3 separate regions of the Homo sapiens genome follow, and regions 1 and 2 are each linked to region 3. Evidence: promoter capture Hi-C in 16 types of primary human blood cells and fetal thymus (Javierre and others, 2016). All regions are on one chromosome and are shown on one strand. Each heading gives the region's core, a stretch centred on a gene start or on the middle of the fragment in contact. The rest is flanking DNA. Distances are from core to core; before and after follow the strand shown.

What was found. The method cuts DNA at HindIII sites, captures the fragments that hold promoters and counts their contacts. A CHiCAGO score of 5 or more calls a contact.
Region 1: a fragment that was not itself captured here is called in contact with the fragment with the promoter of AMHR2 in region 3 in 3 of 17 cell types (M1 macrophages, naive B cells and total B cells); the score reaches 6.0 in M1 macrophages.
Region 2: a fragment that was not itself captured here is called in contact with the fragment with the promoter of AMHR2 in region 3 in 17 of 17 cell types (M0 macrophages, M2 macrophages, activated CD4 T cells and 14 more); the score reaches 19.0 in M0 macrophages.

What each region holds. Positions count from the first base shown.
Region 1 is chr12:53,310,418-53,314,308 of GRCh38, forward strand. It overlaps AAAS (aladin WD repeat nucleoporin), which reads right to left. Exons shown (of 16, transcript NM_015665.6): 7 at 3,881-3,891. Among named protein-coding and RNA genes, the nearest start is that of AAAS, 9.2 kb to the right of the region's middle. The HindIII fragment of the contact is 8,864 bases long and covers 1-3,891 here.
Region 2 is chr12:53,337,707-53,342,329 of GRCh38, forward strand. It overlaps a transcript of SP7 not described here. Among named protein-coding and RNA genes, the nearest start is that of SP7, 3.7 kb to the left of the region's middle. The HindIII fragment of the contact is 2,277 bases long and covers 651-2,927 here.
Region 3 is chr12:53,421,134-53,425,104 of GRCh38, forward strand. It overlaps AMHR2 (anti-Mullerian hormone receptor type 2), which reads left to right and starts at 2,722. Exons shown (of 11, transcript NM_020547.3): 1 at 2,722-2,850; 2 at 3,155-3,337; 3 at 3,576-3,767. The coding sequence starts at 2,802. RefSeq lists an enhancer at 40-606 and a cis regulatory region at 291-809. The HindIII fragment of the contact is 5,088 bases long and covers 526-3,971 here.

The DNA.
Region 1 (3,891 bases), core at 1,392-3,891, 110 kb before region 3:
GGCGTGGTGGTGTTCGCCTGTAGTCCCAGCTACTTGGGAGGCTGAGGCAGGAGAATTGCTTGAACCCGGGAGGCGGAGGTTGCAGTGAGCCGAGATTGCACCACTGCACTCCAGCCTGGCGACAGAGCGAGACTCCGTCTCAAAAAAAAAAAAAAAAAAGATGCAGCATGTGGCTCGGCCTCCATCACCAGCAGGGAACTACCTGAGGGCACCTGCCATGTGTCTGCAGCTGTGTATTTCCAGAGCCATGTGCCTGGCCTGACAGACGAAGGCTACTACCTGAATTAATGCCACCTCTCTTTCCACCTAACTATAACCACCTTCAGCTCCAGTGAAGTCTTAGTCATGGATGTACAATTTAATTCTCTTGAACTTTATGATAAATCACAGCTGCCTTTGCAGGTGGGTTCAGATTCATCTCATTCTTTTCAGTGGCTCCATTGTATACCACTCAATAGATGAACTATAATTTATTGAGTCATGCCTCTACAAATGGACATTTGACTTGTTTGTAATTTTTTATTATACATAATGCTGTAAAAAATATTTCCTGGGCCAGGCATGGTGGTTCACACTCCAGGATGGAGTGCAGTGACACAGTCATAGCACACTGCAGCCTCAAAGTCCTGAGGCTCCTGCCTCAGCCTCTAAAGTAGCTAGGACTACAGGCGTACACCCCACGCCCAGCTAGTTTTTTTATTTTTATTTTTTGTATAGACAGCATCTATGTTGACCAAGCTAGTCTCAAACTCCTAGGCTCAAGCGATCCATCTGCCTCAGCCTCCGAAAGTGCTGGAATTACACGCATGAGCCATCACGCCTGGCCTTGTTTTTTGTTCATTTATTTAAAAAAATTTTTTTAAATCGAGTTCCGCTCTTGTCACCCAGGCTAGAGTACAATGGCATTATCTCAGCTCACTGAAACGTCCACCTCCTGGGTTCAAGTGAATTCTCCTGCCTCAGCCTCCTGAGTAGCTGGGATTATAGGCGCACGCCACCACACCCAGCTAATTTTTGTATTTTTAGTAGAAACAAAAAAAACCAACAACCTTCCAGGCGTGGTGTACGCACCTATAGTCCCAGCTACTTGGCAAGGGGCTCACTTGAGCCCAGGTGTTCAAGGCTGTAGTGTGCAATGATTGAGTCTGTGAATAGCCACTGTATTCCAGCCTGGGCAACATAATGAAACCCCATCTCTAAAAAAACCAAAAAACAGGCCAGTTGCAGCGGCTCATGCCTGTAATCTCAGCACTTCGGGAGGCCGAGGCAGGCGGATCACCTGAGGTCAAGAGTTTGAGACCAGCCTGGCCAATATGGTGAAACCCCTGTCTCTACTAAAAATAAAAAATTAGCCGGTGTGGTGGCACGCACCTGTAGTCCCAGCTACTTGGGAGGCTGAGGCAGGAGAATCGCTTGAACCCAGGAGGCAGAGGTTGTTGCAGTGAGCTGAGATGGCGCCACTGCACTCCAGCCTGGGCGACAGAGTGAGATTCCATCCCCCCCCAAAAAAAATCTGTGATCACGTGTTTTTTTCTTATAGTACCTATTGTCAAGGTTTAGGTATCAGGGTTACATTAGCTTTATAAAAATAAATCAGGAAGATCCTGCAACAAAAAAAAGGGAGGACAGGCCGGGCATGGTGGCTCACGCCTGTAATCCCAGCACTCTGGGATGCTGAGGCGGGCGGATCACGAAGTCAAGAGGAGAATCACTTGAACCCGGGAGGCAGAGGTTGCAGTGAGCCGAGATTGCACCACTGCACTCCATCCAGCCTGGGCAACAAAAGTGGAACTCCATCTCAAAAAAAAAAAATCTCATTATTTTCTTCTACAATCCACTTTGGTAACTTATATTTTGCTAGAAAATCAAACATTTCCACAGGGCACGGTGGCTCACTTCTATAATCCCAGCACTTTGGGAAGCCAAGGCGGGCGGATCACAAGGTCAGGAGTTCAAGACCAGCCTGGCCAATATGGTGAAACCCTATCTCTACTAAAAATACAAAAATTAGCTAGTGCGTGCCTGTAGTCCCAGCTACTTGGGAGGCTGAGGCAGAAGAATCACTTGAACCCGGGAGGCTGAGGTTGCAGTGAGTCGAGATCGTGCCACTGCACTCCAGCCTGGGCAACAGGAGTGAAACTCCTTCTCAAAAAAAAAAAAGAAATCAAACATTTCCTTCAGATTTTCAAATCTGTTGGCCTAAACAAGTCCACAATATTCTTTTATAATTCTTCTATTTTCTCCCGTATCTATATCTTTCCACTTCTGAAAATAGTATACTTTGGTTTTCTTTTTCTCCTTAATTAGGCTAACCAAGAGGTTTTCTTCTTTATTCATATATATACGTATATACACGTATACATACACGTATATATATATATACGTGTATATATATGTGTATATATATAAAACATATATGTGTGTGTGTGTGTATATATATATATATTTTTTTTTTTTGAGACAGAGTCTTGCTTTGTTGCCCAGGCTGGAGTACAGTGGCGTGATCTCAGTTCACTGCAACCTCCGCCTCCCAGGTTCAAGTGACTCTCCTGCCTCAGCCTGCCAAGTAGCTGAGACTACAGGCGAGCACCACCACGCCCAGCTGATTTTTTGTATTTTTAGTAAAGATGGGGTTTCACCGTGTTAGCCAGGATGGTCTCTATCTCCTGACCTCATGATCCACCCGCCTCAGCCTCCCAAAGTGCTGGGATTACAGGCGTGAGCCACCGCGCCTGGCCTTTTTTTTTTTTTTTTTTTTGAGACAGGGTCTCACTCTGTTGCCCAGACCAGAGTACAGCTGTAGTGGCATGATGTCAACTCACTGCAACCTCCGCTTCCCGGGTTCAAGTGATTCTTGTGTCTCAGCCTCCCAAGTAGCTGGGATCACAGGCACGCACCACCACGTCCAGCTAATTTTTTTGTATTTTTAGTAGAGATGGGGTTTCGCCATGTTGGCCAGGCTGGTTTCGAACTCCTGGCCTCAAGAAATCCACCCACCTTGGTCTCCCAAAGTGCTGAGATTACAGGCATGAGCCACTGCGCCTGGCCTAATTTTTGTATTTTTAGCAGAGACGGGTTTTACCATGTTGGCCAGGCTGGTCTCAAACTCCTGACCTCAGGTGATCCTCACGCCTTGGCCTCCCAAAATGCTGGGATTACAGGTGTGAGCCACTGTTCCCAGCCTTTATTCATAATTTTTTTTTTTTTTTGAGACAGAGTCTCGCTCTGTTGCCCAGGCTGGAGTACAGTGGCATGATCTTGGCTCACTGCAACCTCCGCCTCCCAGATTCAAGCGATTCTCCTGCCTCAGCTTCCCGAGTAGCTGGGACTACAGGTGTGTACCACCATGCCCAGCTAATTTTCATATTTTTAGTAGAGACAAGGTTTTGCTATGTTGGCCAGGCTGGTCTCGAACTCCTGACCTCAGGTGATCCAACCGCCTCCACATCCCAAAGTGTTGGAATTACAGGCATGAGCCACCGCACCCAGCTTAGTCATAATTTAAAGAACCAGTTTCTGGTTTTATTTTTAGTTAGTTTTCACAGGTATTCTTTTTCTAATTTTATTAGTTTCTGATCTTATTAGTACTAATTTTCTTTACACTTCCTTTAAGTGTAAAGGAAGTGTATAGTCCTCTGAAAGAGTCTTTCCACCCCGTAACCCACAGACACATTGTCCCCACAATCCAAAAAGCCCCTAGTTCTCTTTCTCCAGATTAGAGTATTCTCAGCAACCCACCTTGATCTTACTTCTGCTTTTCCCATAGCCCTGGGAAGTGCTGTGAGGACAAAGAACTTCTCCTTTCAGACGTCCTCACCACCCACCATGCCTAGCATTGCACAACTCTCAGGCCAAGGTAAGGCAGGCTACTAGGACTTACCGGGTAGACAA
Region 2 (4,623 bases), core at 539-3,038, 84 kb before region 3:
AGCAGTTTCGCCAGCAGGTAGGCACCAATTTCAGGGTAGGGCCCAGGAGTTCTGGATTCTAGCCCCATGATTTGATTTACCTCAAGGAACTCTGGGAACCCAAGGTTTAGGGGAAGGGTTTGGGAACCAGGTGGCTGATAGACAAAGAGAAAGCAGCAAAAGAAGAAACAGAGCAAATGAAAGAGTCCAAGACAATCAGAAGAGATATCACCAGGTATAAGAGAGAGGAAACAGGAAAACAGAAGACCAGATGTGTGGCTTTAAACAACAACAACAACAACAACAAAAAACAGAGCAGGAAAGAAACTAAAAAGATAAAGAAACAGGCCCAGAGGAACAAAGATGGGGAGACAATGGCTTGGGAAGGACAGAGAAAATAGCCTGAGGCATAGCCAGGTCCGGAGGAGGAGGAGGAGGAGGAGGAGGAGGAGGGTTGTGTTGCCAGGCAGGTGGGGGGGCGGGGAAGGAGTATAAATAGCACATAATTGTGTCCGCTGATTACACGGGCCACCCCACCCGTCTGCCTGAGAGGAAGTGCCCGTGGTGGGGTGTCCCTGTGACCTCGCGGTCTCCCCCTTGTTGGGGGGGAGTCTGAGACTGAGGTGCCAGATGGCTTTCCGGGGCCCCGAACTCAGAAGTTGAGAAAGAGAAGCTTTAGAGAAATTCCTGTATCACCAGCAGAAAAGCCCGACCCAGTTAGATCAGGCAGGAAACTGAGGCAGAGGAGGAGAAAGTCTAGATTCTAAAGAAGAGATAGCAGGTGAGGAGGGGGTTGGGACTCAGATTAGATGAGAGAAGAAAGGAAGAAACTGAAGGGGAAAAGGAGGAAGGATGGAAAGATAAATGGACAGACAGGGCTGGGGAGAGGAGTTGGAAGGAAGGGTCACCTTCTCACTCCCCGTGTGGGCTTTAATCCCTAACCCTACCCGGGAAGGGGCAGACGTATTCAAACCCTACTATTCTCTATTCGAACCCTACTATTCTCGGAGAAATAAAAAGGAGGAGCAGAGTCCCAGGAAGATGTGAGCCAGTGCCCCGATGTGTCAACATAGGACACCCTCTGGACACAGAGCCTCTTCCCCACCAGAGATCAGCGCCAAAGATAGGCAGAGGGGCTGCCTGAATCCCCCAGCTGCTGCCCTCAGGAACCCCTGGGTTCTGACTTCTCCATGTCCTTTTTAAAAATAGTCCTGCAGCCCAGCTGAGGCTCTGGTGTTCCTGGGTCCAGCTCCCCAGTCTCCTTCCCAGTGCCCTGAGGGGCTGGGGGCAGCAATTGGAAGCCCTAACCAAGGACCTACCTCCACCCTCTCAGGCCTCCCTCAGCCCAGCCTCCCAGGGGGTGGGGCAGACCAGGGAGAGGCGCCATGTGGCAGGGGCGGGTAGAGGCTGCGGCTCTGGTCCTTCCAGTATAAACCCCCTAGGCATCTGGTTTCTATCCACCACCCCCCACCACCCTGGGGGCCCCTCAGCCTCCGCCCATGGCCACCCAGACGCTGAGCTCCAAGGGATGGATGCCCCAGACGGAAGGGGTGGGATGATGCCTTTCTGATATCCCAATGCCAGGACTGGGCTGAACCACAGGAACCATTCCCTTCCCACCCTCCCCTAGGAGAATCAGGGTGGGCTTTGTAGGTTAGAGGGGGTTGAATCTGGCACCTGCCTCAGTTCTCCAAATGATTTTGGATCTTTTTGGAAAGATCAGTGGGGTGAAAACAGAATGAAAACTGGGGAGAGTGGGGCCGGGTGCAGTGGCTCACGCCGGTAATCCCAGCGCTTTGGGAGGCCAAGGTGGGTGGATCACCTGAGGTCAGGAGTTTGAGACAGCCTGGCCAACATGGTGAAACCCCGTCTCTACTAAAAATACAAAAATCAGCTGAGCGTGGTGACGGGTGCCTGTAATCCCAGCTACTTGGGAGGCTGAGGCAGTAGAATCACTTGAACCCAGGAGGTGGAGATTGCAGTGAGCTGAGATCATGCCATTGCACTCCAGCCTGGGCAACAAGAACAAAACTCCATCTCAAAAAAAAAAAAAAAGAAAGAAAAAAAAAACTGGGGAGAGTGGGAGACCTGTACCCCCTATTCCCAAGGGATGCTACTTCCATCGTCCACACCATCACCCTCTACCACCTTTCTAGGCTGGGCTGTCTCTAAGAGCCTCATCCAAAGGGACTCCCAACTCTTCATTGTTGCTGTTATAGAAGGTTTGACTACCCTAGGGAGAATCACCAGAGAATAGTGAGCAGAGCCCCTGAAATAGAGACTGACACATGCCCTAATACATACCTGATGACAGACACATTCAGATCTGCATACTTGCACACACACAAGGTGACACATAATTCATACACATTTGTACTATGCAGGCATCCATATTGACACACACTGATATATACATATACAGATAATGCTTACCCCAAGACACCCTAACCCCCAATCATAAAAATGCACACACCAGTATATATATACATGCATACAGACTCACAGCCACCTAGAATACTCCCCACATGGACTCACAGACTCCCATCAACACACGTATCTACACATGTGGCAAATGTCACATACATATACCCAGGGCTACCATTACAACTTTACAGCCCTGGAGATCTCTGTGGTCTCCTAAAGGGCATTTGGGAACCCCTCTCCCTATAAGGATCTGGAGATAAGGGTGATATGGAGGCCACTGCCAGTCCTGCAAATTGCTGCCTCCAACTCCTACTAGTATAAGAAGTTCCAGTGTACCTTTAGGTACTTTTGATCCAATACTCCACACACACACCAGAGTTCAGAGACCCAGATGGCCCCAGCGAACTCCCTGGTCCTGGGGAACCCCAGCATCCCTACCCCCACCCAGGCCCCCGCTGCTCTGCGGCCCCGCTGACTCATCTCTCCCTCTGTGGAGCTCCCCAACCACAGGGGCCTGGAAGAGAAGCTTGGAAAGTTGCGCTCATGTCCCGGGCCCCTGGTCTGGCCACTACCCGCCCATGCACCCAGCCCAGCCCTTGTCTCCAGTGGATACTCCAGCGACAGAGAACATAGAGGGGACAGGAAAGAAGAAGGCACGCAGAGACAGGGAAACAGAAAGACACAGGAGAGACAAAGAGGAAACAACAAATGGTGGGCATACAGATGAGAGACCCTGAGGATCAGCTACTAGTCTGTTGGGTCCTCTAAGAGCAATGGGGCTGATGACCAGGAAAGCTTGCTCCTTGGGTTGAAGGAACATCCATTCATGGCCTCAGGATTTAGAGACTGCCGAGTGCCTTGACCCAGCATTTCTGACACTAGGCTCAGGGTACTTGGGGAAGAGGATCCAATTTTAGGAGGCAAAGCTGAGGACACAGGGTAGAAAGGAAGCTTTTAAGAGGCTGGCAACCTTTGTATAGGACAGCTTGGAAAAGGAGTTCCTCACCCCAACAAATATGTACACAAATTTACAGGTACAGACAGACTACAACTTCCCTCCCTCTCTGCTAGGTCTCCCCATCCCCTCTTCCAGCACCAGGGCTGCAAGGCAGGACCTCTGGGACTGACTCTGGCTCCCCTCTTCCCTGAGCCTTGGGTTCCTTCATTGACATTGAGCCCTGATATAATTCAGCAGCTTTAGGAGAGGCAGATCAGAATCAGAAACAGAAGTGCCATGGAAGGAGCAGGAAGGAATCTGGATGGCAGGGGACAAAGTGAAAAATGAAAGGAAGAGGAAGACTGGGGTCTGATTCTGAAACAAGGGGACCTGTCCTGGATGCCCGTGTCTAAAATGGGACAACATTGAATTAAGTAAGAACCTGGTCATCTCTAGAAAATGACCCTTTGTAAAAACGATACCCTAGAATCTGATCCATGAAATATACTAGTGTCTTTCATAAGAAGAAGTTGGGGTGATGGAGTTCTGATCACATCATCCCTAGGAGTGAGGCTGAGCAACTCAAGGGAATGGTCCTTCAAAATCCTAAATACAGGCCTGGTGAGGTGGCTCACACCTGTAATCCCAGCACTTTGGGAGGCCGAGGTGGGTGGATCACCTGAGGTCAGAAGTTTGAGACTAGCGTGGCCAACATGGCAAAACCCTGTCTCAGGCTGGCCGAGGTGGCTCATGCCTGTAATCCCAGCACTTTGAGAGGCTGAGGAGGGCGGATCACGAGGTCAGGAGATCGAGACCATCCTGGCTAACATGGTGAAACCCTGTCTCTACTAAAAATACAAAAAATTAGCCGGGCGTGGTGGCGGGCGCCTGTAGTCCCAGCTACTTGGTAGGCTGAGGCAGAAGAATGGCGTGACCGGGAGGTGGAGCTTGCAGTGAGCCGAGATCGCGCCACTGCACCCCAGCCTGGGCGACAGAGCGAGACTCCGTCTCAAAAAAAAAAACAAAAAACAAACAAACAAACCCTGTCTCTACTAAAAATACAAAAATTAGCTGGGTGTGGTGGCGCGTGCCTGTAATCCCAGCTACTCTGGAGGCTGAGGTAGGAGAATCACTTGAACCCAGAAGGCAGAGATTGCAGTGAGCCGAGATTGTGCCACTGCACTCCAGCCTGGAAGACAAGCGAGACTCCATTTAAAAAAAAAAAAATTCCTAAATACACACGTCTCCCCGCTTTCTCTGGCCTGCTGCATTCTTCCTCGGAG
Region 3 (3,971 bases), core at 1,472-3,971:
TGGCCAACATGGCGAAACCCCGTCTCTACTAAAAATACAAAAATTAGCCGGGCGTGGTGGTATGCGCCTGTAGTCCCAGCTACTCAGGAAGCTGAGGCCGGAGAATCGCTTGAACCCGGTAGGCAGAGGTTGCAGTGAGCCGAGATCGCACCACTGCACTCCAGCCTGGGTGACAGAGCGAGACTCCGTCTCAAAAAAAAAAAAAAAAAAAAATGTCGGTACTCAGACTGTCCTCCCTGGTCTAAGCCAGATCATTCCAAGAAAGGGTTTCCAGGAAGCCACTAGGGGGACAGAAAGCTAGGGAAACAGAGAACAAGTCCCCTCTGACTCTTAATTCTCAAGGAGCCAGTGGCTCACAGGTGTGGAAGTGATTACCTATTTCTGTTGTTTCTTACTCTGGGAAAGAGTCTGGTGGAGTTGGACTCCTCTGTCTCTACTGCAGAACAAGCCATAGCCCTCTCCTCCCAACTCCATGCTGAAACTCTCCACATCCTGTGCCCGCCCTTCACATTTTATAGTCCCTGAAGCTTAGTAAATGTAGGAGGTATACTATATGTATTAGTCATCAGAGGAGGTACTTTCTGCCCTCTCACCGCAGCAGGGAATTTCTCCTCTGCTGACCTCTGGTGGTGATAGTTTGAACTGTACCCTCCCTTTTTAGTTAGTGGCCTGTTGGCAGGTAATGATGCATATTTTCTCAACAATTTAAATTCAAATGTCCAAGTATAGTATTAAGTGGTAATTTTTTTTCATTGTTGAATTTTGTACGTCTTTCAGGCAGTATAGTGTAATACAAAGAATAGAGCCGGCCGGGTGCGGTGGCTCACGCCTGCAATCCCAGCACTTTGGGCGGCCGAGGCGGAGGGATCACGAGGTTAAGAGATCGACCCCTTCGGCCGGGCGCAGTGGCTCACGCCTGTAATCTCAGCACTTTGAGAGGCCGAGGCGGGCGGATCACGAGGTCAGGAGATCAAGACCATCCTGGCTAACACGGTGAAAACCCGTCTCTACTAAAAATACAAAAAATTAGCCGGGCGTGGTGGCGGCCGCCTGTAGTCCCAGCTGCTCGGGAGGCTGAGGCAGGAGAATGGCGTTAACCCGGGAGGCAGAGCTTGCAGTGAGCCGAGATCGCGCTACTGCACTCCAGCCTGGGCGACAGAGCAAGACTCCATCTCAAAAAAAAAAAAAAAAAAAAAAAGATCGACCCCATCCTGGCCAACATGGTGAAACTCCGTCTCTACTAAAAGTACAAAAATAATAATAAAAATAAGACTAGAACCTGGACTTTGGAGTCAGACCTGCCTAAGTTCAAATTCCAGCTCTGCTATTTCCTAGCTGAATGACTTTGGGCGACTTACGTAAGTTCAGTTTTCTTACCTATAAAATGGAAATAATAAAAATAATAGGCCAGGCACAGTGGCTCACACTTGTAATCCCAGCACTTTGGGAGGCCAAGGCGGGCAGATCACGAGGTCACGAGATCGAGACTATCCTGGCCAACATGGTGAAACCCTGTCTCTACTAAAAATACAAAAATTAGCTGGACATGGTGGTGCGTGCCTGTAATCCCAGCTACTCGGGAGGCTGAGGCAGGAGAATCGCTTGAACCAGGGAGTCAGAGGTTGCAGTGAGCCAAGATGGCACCACTGCACTCTAGCCTGGTGACAGAGCGACACTCGGTCTCAAAAAATAAATAAATAAAATAATAATAATAAATATTTCAGGGGAGAATTAGATGAGATGATTGTAAAATGCATAGCCCTAGCTGTGCCCCAGCACATAGTAGGTGCTTGATAAGAAATTTGTTACCTCCTTAATAATGGGTATTTGTTCAGCCTGTGAACCAATGTGTTTTTTTTTTTTAAGTAAAATCCACGGCTAGGCATGGTGGCTCACGCCTATAATCCCAGCACTTTGGGAGGCCGAGGCGGGCAAATCACCTGAGGTAAGGAGTTCGAGACTAGCCTGGCTGACATGGTGAAACCCCGTCTCTACTAAAAATACAAAAATTAGCCAGGTGTGGTGGCAGGCGCCTGTAATCCCAGCTACTCAGGAGGCTGAGGCAGGAGAATAGCTTGAACCCAGGAGGCGGAGGTTGCAGTGAGCTGCGATCGTGCCACTGCACTCCAGCCTGGGGGAGAAGAGCGAGACTCCGTCTCAAAAAAAAAAAAAAAAAAATCCACATAGCAAAATTTACCATTGTTACTGTTTTCAATGTGTTTTTTAAAAATTCAGGTAAGTTTTGTATACTTTCTGATTCTTAAGTTGGAAAACAAGGTAACCTCTAATATGGGCTGTGAGGCCTTCCTCTGCCCAAGCAGTTGCAGATATGAACCCTGAATATAAAGAGATCTTAGGCTAGAAAGGATCTTGGGCAGAGCTGAATGGCTCTAAGCATTTGACCTCACATTGGTTTCCTCCTGAGAAGAGTCAACAGAGTCCAGCATCTTCTTCCAAGGTCAGGGAAGGGCAAAGATTTGAAATTAGGCATCACTGGGTTCTCAGCTGGGCCTCCAAGTTCCCCTCCTCTCACTATGCAGAGCAAAGAGGAGGTTGCAGAAGAGAAGAGGATATGAGATTGGTTCTCTGCTCCTCCCTTTCTTTCCCTGCTTTCCCCACACCCACCCTCTCCCCCACAGCAGCCTTCTCCCCCACAGAGGCTGGGATAGGATGAGGGGGGCGGAGTTGGGGACTGAGGGATCAGAAGCCCCAGGATGCCCTGTATCTGAAGAAAGATTTGGCCAGGGGCAGCTGTGCTGGCTTATGCTCTTCTCCTTCTGCTGCTGCCATCCTCCAGCAAGATGCTAGGGTCTTTGGGGCTTTGGGCATTACTTCCCACAGCTGTGGAAGGTAAGTGTCTACAGGGAGGGGAAGGGTCTCTCCATCCATCCAGCAAGGGAAAGGGGCGCTTGAAGCAAGAGCCACCCCTTTGGAAGAGTGGTGAGTGGGCTGGGTGAGTAAGGGTGAAGGATAGAGCCATGTGTCCCCATGGCAGGGCTCAGGTTCCAGGCCTCTGCTGACCCTGCTTCCTCCTGTGGCTTTACCATACTGACGCTGGGATGTGGAACATGTTTTGTCTATTCTTTTGGCCAGTTTTTTGCCTCTGCATTCACTCCCACCTTGAATCTTTTCCTTTCCCCACCCTGGGCCTCAGCACCCCCAAACAGGCGAACCTGTGTGTTCTTTGAGGCCCCTGGAGTGCGGGGAAGCACAAAGACACTGGGAGAGCTGCTAGATACAGGCACAGAGCTCCCCAGAGCTATCCGCTGCCTCTACAGCCGCTGCTGCTTTGGGATCTGGAACCTGACCCAAGACCGGGCACAGGTGGAAATGCAAGGTGAATGGCAAAGTATATGGCAGGTGATGGCTAGGGTGGGAGACAGACACATCCTGGGGTGTGGGTGGCAACCAAGGGGGAAGGGGAGAAATAGAACATCTGGTGGGAAAGAAAAGCCCATGAGAGCTGGAAGGGACGCCTCTGATAGAGAAGGGATTTACCCTCTGTTTCCACACCCCATTGTGCTTTCTTCCTTGCCCCCCCTTTCTCTCCTCTTCCCCTAATCCCATCCCATCAGGATGCCGAGACAGTGATGAGCCAGGCTGTGAGTCCCTCCACTGTGACCCAAGTCCCCGAGCCCACCCCAGCCCTGGCTCCACTCTCTTCACCTGCTCCTGTGGCACTGACTTCTGCAATGCCAATTACAGCCATCTGCCTCCTCCAGGGAGCCCTGGGACTCCTGGCTCCCAGGGTCCCCAGGCTGCCCCAGGTAGCCACCCAAGGGTACTGAAGCCTGATGGGGGCTGGGGCCCAGGTTAGGATGAGAGGTGGAACCAGGGCCAGTTCTCACCCTACTCCCGCCCCACGCTTTCCTCCTCCTGGCCTTGGGAAGTTGGTTGCCCTGGTGACTGGGAGATAAGGGGTCTTGTGACCAGGGTGGGGGTGGGTTGAGACGCAAGCTCTCAGGAGGGGA